Regions from separate parts of the Homo sapiens genome. Here region 1 is linked to region 2. Evidence: promoter capture Hi-C in human tissues and cell types (Jung and others, 2019). All regions are on one chromosome and are shown on one strand. Each heading gives the region's core, a stretch centred on a gene start or on the middle of the fragment in contact. The rest is flanking DNA. Distances are from core to core; before and after follow the strand shown.

Evidence for each region. Contacts are between HindIII fragments. The study calls those that stand out against the background at their distance.
Region 1: a fragment that was not itself captured here is called in contact with the fragment with the promoter of ZNF382 in region 2 in 2 of the 25 tissues and cell types used here (aorta and liver).

The regions. Positions count from the first base shown.
Region 1 is chr19:36,966,077-36,970,972 of GRCh38, reverse strand. It overlaps a transcript of ZNF568 not described here. Among named protein-coding and RNA genes, the nearest start is that of ZNF568, 52 kb to the right of the region's middle. The HindIII fragment of the contact is 7,190 bases long and covers 1-4,896 here.
Region 2 is chr19:36,603,142-36,608,172 of GRCh38, reverse strand. It overlaps ZNF382 (zinc finger protein 382), which reads right to left and starts at 2,860. Exons shown (of 5, transcript NM_032825.5): 1 at 2,826-2,860; 2 at 551-621. It also overlaps a transcript of ZNF529 not described here. RefSeq lists enhancers at 2,409-2,468, 3,449-3,588 and a silencer at 2,829-2,888. The HindIII fragment of the contact is 9,037 bases long and covers 1-5,031 here.

The sequences.
Region 1 (4,896 bases), core at 607-3,106, 360 kb before region 2:
CCGTGCCCAGGCCTGGGTTTAAAAGAATTTTGAGGCTGTTATGTACAACTCTATAACCATGGTAGAGGAAACTGTAGATTTTCTAATGAAATTTAAATCACTGATTTCTACTAAGAAGTAGAAAATCTGAACAGAATAATAACCATAATGAAATGCTTTATTTTATTTAAGATATTTTAAAGTATGTACAATTAAAAAGGTACCATACCCAGATGGTTATAGCTGAATTTTAGCTAATTTTTGAACTAATAATGATTATTCAATGTATTTATATCCAACTTATATATGCTCTCCAATGAATTTTTGTCTAAGTGGCATAAAATTTATTAAAGACATGGCCGGGCATGGTGGCTCATACCTGTAATCTCAGCAGTTTGGGAGGCTGAGGCAGGAGCATCACTTTGAGGCTAGGAGTTTGAGACCAGCCTCGGCAACATGGCAAAACCCCCTTTCTACAAAGATTAGCCGGATGTGGTGGCGCACACCTGTACTTCCAGCTACTGGGGAGGCTGAGGCTGGAGGATCACTTGTACCCGGAGGCAGAGGTTGCAGTGAGCCAAGATTGGGGCACTGCACTCCAGCCTGGGCGACAGAGCGAGACTGTCTCCAAAAGAAAGAAAAGAAAAGAAAAGAAATTCAATAAAGACAGGCCAAAAGAAAAGTATTAATTTCATTTGTGGTTATAGATGCAAAAGTTCCAAATAAAAGGCTGATTTCAATAATGTATAAAATTTATATAGTTATGTCAAAGGATTGGGAAAAAAGAAATTCATAAATTATGCCAATAAGACAAAGTGGTAGAATAATGCCCCAAGACGTTCAAATCCTAACCCCCAGAACCTGTGAATATATCTTACATGGCAAAAGAGGCTCTGCAGCAGATATGCTTCAACTAATAATCTTGAGATGGAGGCCAGGCATCGTGGCTCATGCTTGTAATCCAGCACTTTGGGAGGCCGAGGTGGGCGGATCACTTGAGGTAAGGAGTTTGAGATCAGCCTGGACAACGTGGTGAAACCCAGTCTCTACTAAAAATACAAAAATTAGCCAGGCATGATGGTGCATGCCTGTAGTCCTAGGTACTCGGGAGGCAGAGGTTGCAGTGAGCCAAGATCTCGCCACTGCACTCCAGCCTGGGCGGCAGAGTGAGACTTGATCTCAAAAAAAAAAAAAAAAAAAAAAAAAAAAAAATCTTGAGATGGGAAGATTATGCTGGATTACTGAGTAGGCCCAACAAGGGTCCTTAAAAGAGGAAGGCAGGAGGGTCAGAGTCAGAGAGGAAATCATGACAACGAAAGCGGGGATGTGCTTTGAAGACGGAGGAAAGTGCCATAAGCAAAAGAACGCAGGCAGCTTCTAGAAGCTGGAAAAGACAAGGAAATAGATTCTCCCCTAGAACCTAGAGAAAGAACACGGTTTTATGACACCTGGATTTTAGCCCACAGGACTCATTTCACACTTCTGACCTCAGTATCTAGATGAAGAAATCTTCCCTCAGCAGGAAGAGGTTGGGATGACCTGTCATTCATCAAAAAACTATATCCTTGATAAGCCTGTCCTTCCTTGCTTGAGATATTTTCTTTCGCTCTCTTTCAATTAGGATATAGAACTTTTGCATTCCTTCTCCTGAAACTTCCTCTCTTATGGTAACGAATCAGAGAACTGGTTCTTTAGTTCTGTTCCAGTGGGGTCTTTGGGTATGTCCCCAATAAGCTCAGTGCCTTCCCACTTCCTAGGCACATTTACTTCAGTTGTTTATTTTGGCAAGTTTCAAATCTCCAGAAGCATTGAAAGAATACTACAAAGAACTTGTATTGGGGCTGGGTGTGGTGGCTCACACCTGTAATCCCAGCACTTTGGGAGGCTGAGGTGGCTGGATCAGGAGGTCAGGAGATTGAGACCATCTTGGCTAATACCGTGAAAGCCCGTTTCTACTAAAAATACAAAAAATTAGACAGGCATGGTGGCACGTGCCTGTAATCCCACCTACTCAGGAGGCTGAGGCAGGAGAATCGCTTGAACCTAGGAGGCGGAGGTTGCAGTGAGCTGAGATTGTGCCACTGCACTCTTGCCTGGGGGACAGAGCAAGACTCTGAAAAGAAAAAAAAAAAGAACTCATTCATGCTTGTCCCTTAGATTCACAAATTGTCAACAATTTAACAATTTGCCACTTTTGATTCTCTCTCTACCATTTGAAAATAAATTCAAGAATCATTATACTTCAGTACTAAACATGTTTTTTTTTTTTTGAGGCAGTGAGCCAATTTGATCACTTGGCTAAGATGGTAATGGCCACATGTCTCCATTGTAGTTATTTTTCCCCTTTTTAATTGGTAAGTAACCTGAGGGATGATAACTTCAGACCATATGAATCTCCTCTTTTTTAACAATCATATGCATATATATATATATAGTTTTTTTTTTTTTTTGGAGACAGAGTCTTGCTCTGTTGCCAGGCTGGAGTGCAGTGGCGCAATCTCAGGTCACTGCAACCTCTGCCTCCTGGGTCCAAGCTGGGACTCCAGACACCCGCCACCACGCCCGGCTAATTTTTGTATTTTTAGTAGAGATGGGGTTTCACCATGTTGGCCAGGCTGGTCTTGATCTCCTGACTTCGTGATCTACCTGCCTCGGCCTCCCAAAGTGTTGGGATTACAGGTGTGAGCCACTGCACCTGGCCCATATGCATATTTAATATAAGGTATATGTTACATTTTCATGTAAATTAATATGTGTTACTCTCATATAAATTTGTATGTATTTTTCTCATATAAATATGAATCATGAAATTACATTTTATAAGTGGACTTTCTACCATGTATGGATATTATGGTGTACAGTTGACACACATATATACATATTATTCTTCAGTGTTGGATAACTGATCCATGTTATATGCTTTGTAGGACATCTTAGATATTTTATGGGATAATTTCAAATACAACCAAGTTTTTATTTTGTTCCTGGGTTTTCAATTTAGCCCACAAGAAACTACAACACCACTGTTAAGAGATATGCATTTTCATGTTGTTGAGATTCTCCTTCATGCCCAGTGTTCTATTCCAAGCACTAATGGGGCAAAAACACCTATCTTGTAGAGAAAGATGAGATTCTTTACTGTGGACATTATGATCTGCCATGGAGACAGGACCATTGTGATGAAACAACTCATTATGCTTTTGGTTGATGGCAAACTGTCCTGCCTTATGAGACTTTAAGCAGTTGGGTATCATGGAAAGCTTAAGTGTGAAGGTCTTGGTGAATGATGATGGGCTTTTGCCAGAAATGGATGGATGAGAAGCTTTTTAAGCATCAGCAGCCAGCTTCTATGGTCAGTTTGTATCAGTCTGGATACAGTCAGGAAACAGAAACCACAAAGGAATTTTTTGCTTGTTTGTTTTGTTTTTTTTGAGAAGGAGTATTGCTCTGTTGCCTAGGCTGGAGTACAGGGGTGCTATCTCAGCTCACTGTAATATCTGCCTCTCGGGTTCAAGTGATTCTCGTGCCTCAGCCTCCCAAGTAGCTGGGATTACAGGCACCTGCCACCATGCCCAGCTAACTTTTGTATTTAAGTAGAGATGAGGTTTCACCATGTTGGCCAGGCTGGTCTTGAACTCCTGACCTCAGGTGATCCACCCACCTCAGCTTCCCAAAGTGTTGGGATTACAGGCATGAGCCACTGTGCCTGGCCAAAGGAATTTAAACAGAATTATAATATAAAGAATTATTAAGCAATGATAGGACAGAAACTATAGGGCCATGAGGAGGACTCTAAAAGGCCCTTTAGAGCTGAGGGAGAGTACCCAAAAGAAAACATACTTGGAAGGAGGTCTTTCCCAAGGGTGAGTTTCAAACCTCACTGAATGTGGTTGTAGCTCAGTGTGATGCTGGAGAAGTTTGCTACGTTGCCAGGTACTCAAAGAGAGTTGGAGTGGCACTGTAGGCCTTAGGCCTGAGATGCATGGTTTCCACATCAGGACAGCTACAGGAAATTACTCCCCATTGCACAAGCAAGCTACGGCTGATGGCCAGGATGCAGAGGAGTTTGGGTGCCACTGTGAGCATGAGGTCTGGAGCACACGGTCTCTCATGAGAAGGGCCTCAGCAAGGTAGTCTGCCAGGCCCAGGCCAGATATGCAAGATCTCCAAGAGACTGCATGCTCTGGAGCACAGCTGGCGCAGAGCATCGCTGAATATTCTCACATACACACCTCCCACTGATGGACCATGAAGCAAGAGCAAGGAAAAGCAAAATGCTGCAACCTGAGCCAGAAAGACCCCTTCTTCCTTCAATGTCCCTCTTCAATGTCCACACCCTCTACTGACAAAGCTTAATATCACACTCACTGTAAAGGAGAAATGCTTCAAGTTGTCCACTTTCACAGACTGGTGTTGAAAAGGTTAATTTGGAGCTGAGAGGCAATACACTGATAACTGACCTAGTCTAACCCTTTGGGTACTAAGTTTCTACACACTTTTTTATACAAAACTTGAGCTCCTTTACAACAATGAAACAACTCTATTTCTACCTAGCAAGGTACAGCTATCCAAATGAGAAGATGGACCAGGCATGATGGCTCACGCCTGTAATCCCAATACTTTGGGAGACTAAGGCAGGAGGATTGTTTGAGGCCAGGAGTTGGAGACCAGCCTGGGAAACAAAGCAAGACCCCATTTCTTTTTTTCTTTTTGAGACAGAGTCTCTGTTGCCTAGGCTGGAATGCAGTGGTGCAATCTCGGCTCACCGCAACCTCCACCTCCCCAGTTTAAGCGATTCTCGTGTCTCAGCCACCCGAGTAGTTGGGATTACAGGCATGGACAATCACTTCCAACTGATTTTTATATTTTTTAGTAGAGACAGGCTTTCACCATGTTGGCCAGGCTGGTCTTGAACTT
Region 2 (5,031 bases), core at 1,611-4,110:
TACCACTTCTATTTCCCAACGTACCATTGCAAAACCTAGGCTAGCGGAGATCATCAAGGTTTTTCCACGTCTGCTCCATGACTACTCACAGCTTAGGTCTCAAATCAGCATCAGGACAAGTTAAATTCATTCAAGCCATATATTCCCATTTAAATCAAGACAATACCTTTCTATTCCAGCAGTTTGTTTGTGAGAAGACTGAGAAAGGAGATGATGAATGATATACCCAATGAATATGTACAACCAGAAGGTACACTTGGGGAAGGCTTAAGTTGATTTGGTTGGAATGGAGAAATTGTGAACAGGGCTGGATACAGGGTGAGGCAGGTGAGGCACCTAGAATGCAAAATTTAGGAGGGCACAGCCCTGAGGGTACCCCTTAAATATTTCACCTCATGCCACTTGCCTGCCTCAGCCTAATCTGGCCCTGACTGAAGACTAATTTCATGGAAGCAAATCCCAATATCAGGGAAGGTTAAAGGACAGTGAAGCTCATGTTCATACACCATGAAAAAAAGTTATTTCAGAAAGAGAGGAAACATCATCTCACCTGAGACATGGCTTTGAGATTTCTAGATGAACTTTCTCTTTTGAGCTCCTCTTTTGGAAAAAGAAACAGTCCTGAGAAAGCAAAGATGGAGGATATACGTATGTGAGACCATACTTGACTCAGAACTCCCAGAATTAACTCAGTTAAATCTGCATGAATGTTCACTATTTCAGCACTTGTCCACCCTGTGTACCCTTCAGATGTCCAGGATGGTAGTTAGTGGGAAAACAGACAAATCAGGCTCCCTCACAAACACCAGAAACCCAGTCTCTTGGTAAAGTATACAGGATTCTGGGGAACCTGTTTTAGCTTGAAGAGAGGGAACACTGTGTTTTTCCCTCTGCAGCTCTGCCTTCCATCTACCTCTAACCACAGGTTTACTGTGTATTTCCAAACGGTTCTTCTTGGACTTTTTGCCAATTTACACTGATAGTAGTGGATGAGAATACCTTCCCAAGCCCTGATGAAGACAGTTGACAACTTTTAAATCTTTGCCTATCTGGTCTATGTTGTAGTTGAGAATAATCTTTTTTTTTTTTTTTTTTGAGACAGAGTTTCACTCTTGTTGCCCAGGCTGGAGTGCAATGGTACAATCTTGACTGACCGCAACCTCCACCTCCCGGGTTCAAGCGATTCTCCTGCCTCAGCCTCCTGAGTAGCTGGGATTACAGGCATGCACCACCATGCCCGGCTAATTTTGTATTTTTAGTAGAGATGGGGTTTCTCCATGTTGGTCAGGCTGGTCTCGAATTCTCGATCTCAGGTGATCTGCCCACCTTGGCCTCCCAAAATGCTGGGATTACAGGCATCAGTCACTGCACCAGGCCCGCAAAATAACTATTTTAATTACTACAGTGAGACTGGACTTATTAAAAATCTATCAAATACTTTTTATTATCTTAGCAAGCCTAAGGGAGTAGGAAACCTCACTCATATACAAGTGTTGAAAGTGGTAGTTATGCCAGGCACAGTGGCTCACACCTGTAATCCCAGTACTTTGGCAGGCCGAGGGGGCGGGGGGAGGGGATCACTTGAGGTCAGGAGTTCAAGACCAGCCTGGGCAACATGGTGAAACCCCATCTCTACTAAAAATACAAAAACTAGCCGAGCGTGGTGGCACAAGCCTGTAGTCCCAGCTACTCAGGAAGCTGGGGCAGGAGAATCACTTGAACTTCAGAGGTAGAGGTGGCAGTGAGCAGAGATCATGCCACTACACTCCAGCCTGGGCAAAAGAGCAAGACCTTGTCTTAAAACAAACAAAAAACAACAACAAAAGTGGTAGTTATGGTAAAAAAAAAAAAAAAAAAAAAATTTCCTGCATGTCCCCAATGGAATGCTATTCATTTCAACATACTGGTTTTAGTTAATATGGTGTTTCCAGGAAATGAATCTGGGAATTATGAAAATCATCTCTTCCCCTCTGATACTGTTATCTCTATTTTATTTGCTAAATTGCTACTTAGTTACAGTTTTGGAGGCAGGCTTAATGGCTACTATTCAGATAATCAAGTCTTACATAACCAACTAGCCATGGTCATAACAGAGTTCCTCAATCATTCAAATATTTAGGTCACTAAGGCCACAAAACCACCAGAAGTAACAGTAGGTTACAAACACATGCAGAGTCACAGTCAATCAAACATCCTTCAGAGAACCACCAACCTACAGGCCCCACTTGTCATTCACAACCTCAGACAGCAGCTAACACGACTCCAGGCAGTCACAACCACACCTACAAATCACTTGCAATTCTCCACACTCAAAGGCAGTCTCAAATGCGACTCACACCTAATCTAAAAATAGACACACGCAGAGGAAACCTCGCGCAGCAACACTACTCCGTTCACTTTTCACACACAATCGGCCACAACATCCCAAAGAGAGGCAAGCACCTAAAATGCAGCAGGTTGGGCGCAGGAGGCCACCCCTATTCAGCGCGCGCCCGCGCGCGCGAACACACAGCGCCCGCTCCGCGCGGGGACCCGCCGCCAGCGATGGCGCTTCCGCGGGATCAGAACGGGCAAAATCCCCCTTCGCGGAGCTCGCTCCGGGTCACCCTCAAGGTCACGCCCATGGACCACGCCCGAGGCCCGGCTCGTACAGATCGGAGCGTCTGGATACCGCGGTCCCGGTTTCCTCCTCAGAATTTCCAGGCCCGGCTCGGACTCTTGGTTACCTCCCTGGCCTCCCCACCCGGTTCCGCGTCCTTAGACAGCTCTCCCGGAACGGAGCTCCCAGTGCCCTCCTTGGCCTCCTCAGCACCCCTGGCACCCACCAAGCCTCACCCCCGGCCCAGGGTGAGTCGTCTGCGCCTGCGCACTCGCGCGTGGGCCTGAGCTCCCAGGAGTCTCCGGGGCGGCCCGTTAGTCGCCGCGCGGTGCTAGCTGCCGGCGCTCCCCTCCGTTTGCACCCACGGCCGCCCTATTGCGGCTGGCACTACGCTTCTGCCAGGACCCCGGCTCCCTTTTCCGTTGACCTGGTGTTCGTTTTCCATGTGGTGAGTTGAGGTGACCCGGGTCTGGATGCGAGAAGAGCTCACGGCAGGGGACCTGGGTTCATGGGACGCGGAGAGGGTTTGTGGAGGCAGAAGCCCCAGGCCTGTGTGCAAGTCACCTGCTGGGGAGGGAGACTGTGTGATTGTGTTTGTGTGTGCCGTTCTGTGGCTGCGTCCGTGTGTGGTGGTGTGAGTGGGCGCGCCTGTGATGGTCCCGGGGGGGCGGGGGGTGTGCACAGCAGGGGGTGTGTGTGCACAGCAGGTGCACAGCCCGGGACAGCCCTGACTGTCCCCGATTGGGCCCGCGGGACTGAGTGGGGGCGGGGCCGTTTGTGTGACGGCGCTGAGCGGTGACTATGAATGTGTCATGCTGTTATCAGTGATCCTGTGACAGCGCTGTTGTGACCCACTGGAGACTGTGATCAAAACTGGCCTGGTGCAGCTTTTGTAGAGTTTGATTTCTGCAGTTCTGGGGCTCAGGAATACGTGGACAAGGTCCCCGTATGGCTCGATCTGTGTCTGTGAAGACTCTGAGACCTTCTGTTCTAAAGCATGGCCCCTGTCGCTTTCATAATGCATAATACACAGTGGCATGCAGCCTCGCCAACCTCTGGGGCCAATTTTAAGTTACGTGGTTTCTTGGAGTTTGTTATACTGGGATTTCTTTCACTGCCTCAGTCATTTCACCTTATAACCACGTTGCACAGTGTGCAGTCAAATGGCTATCGAAAAGAAAGTTGGATATTTGAGATCCAGAATGAAGTTTCCAACTGAAAAAGCACAGCCTTGTGTTTCACATGGACAAGGCTGTGTTCTGATATGCACAGCCTCGTGTTTGATATGGAGATGTTAGAGCTGGAATTGCTCCCAAGGCAAGGTTCTGGGAAGATATGATATTGAGGCCCCAGGAGTAGGATTCGTTTCTCCAAAGATTTTGTGTGTGTGTGTGAGATGGAGTTTTGCTCTTGTTGCCCAGGCTGGAGTGCAGTGGCGCAATCTCGGCTCATTGCAACCTCCGCCTTCCGGGTTCAAGCAATTCTCCTGCCTCAGCCTCCCGAGTAGCTGGGATTACAGGCATGCACCACCATGCCCGGCTCATTTTTGTATTTTTAGTAGAGACGGGGTTTCACCATGTTGGTCAGACTGGTCTCGAACTCCTGACCTCAGGTGATCCACCCGCCTCGGCTTCCCAAAGTGCTGGGATTACAGGCGTGAGCCACCGTGCCTAGCCAAAAGATCCCTTTTGGAAGCTCTGTGGGGGCAAGTTGAATATTGCAGATCCACAGCATTTTCATAGCTGTCTAAAGGAAATTATTGTGAATACAGAAACATTTCAGTCCCAGGCTTTGGTGAACCTGACTTTTCTTTATGAAGGGAAGAGTCAACAATATTCCAGTCTTTCTCATACTTCCATCTGGTCATATTCAGCATGGGTTATGGAAGCTTGCCGGTGGTGAAGAATGTGTTCTTATTTAGCCTGTCTGGGCTCCAAGAAAGGCTGAGTATATTGTGATTCCCTTTCTTTCCACATTTTGCTGTATTCCAAGAGAAGAGCTCTGAGAGAAGAAAAGCATTGTAGTTGCACATTTTAAAGCAAAGCTGGAGGTCATTTTGATTTTTTTCTTTGTTTTATGAAATGCATTTTTGTTTTTCAGGATGTGGAATAACTTCATTTGAAATGCTCACCAAATAGTGACTTATCTATTTACCTGGTCTCTAGTCCTTCTCTTCCCAGTTACTGATGACATTATGAAGACAGATCTCCTTCTTTCCAGTACCTCATCAGATGCCCTTCCTAGAGTTAATTTTCATATAACACCTTGACAGTATGTTCACTTCTCCTGTGTGCTCTTTTTGTTTAAGCATTCTCATGACATAGAAATAGTCTGCCTTCACACGGTGATTTGTTACGGAGGAGACCAATTGCTTAGGTAGAATTACACATTAGATAGTTTAGATTTTCTTCAGAGACATGAGTGGAAAAACA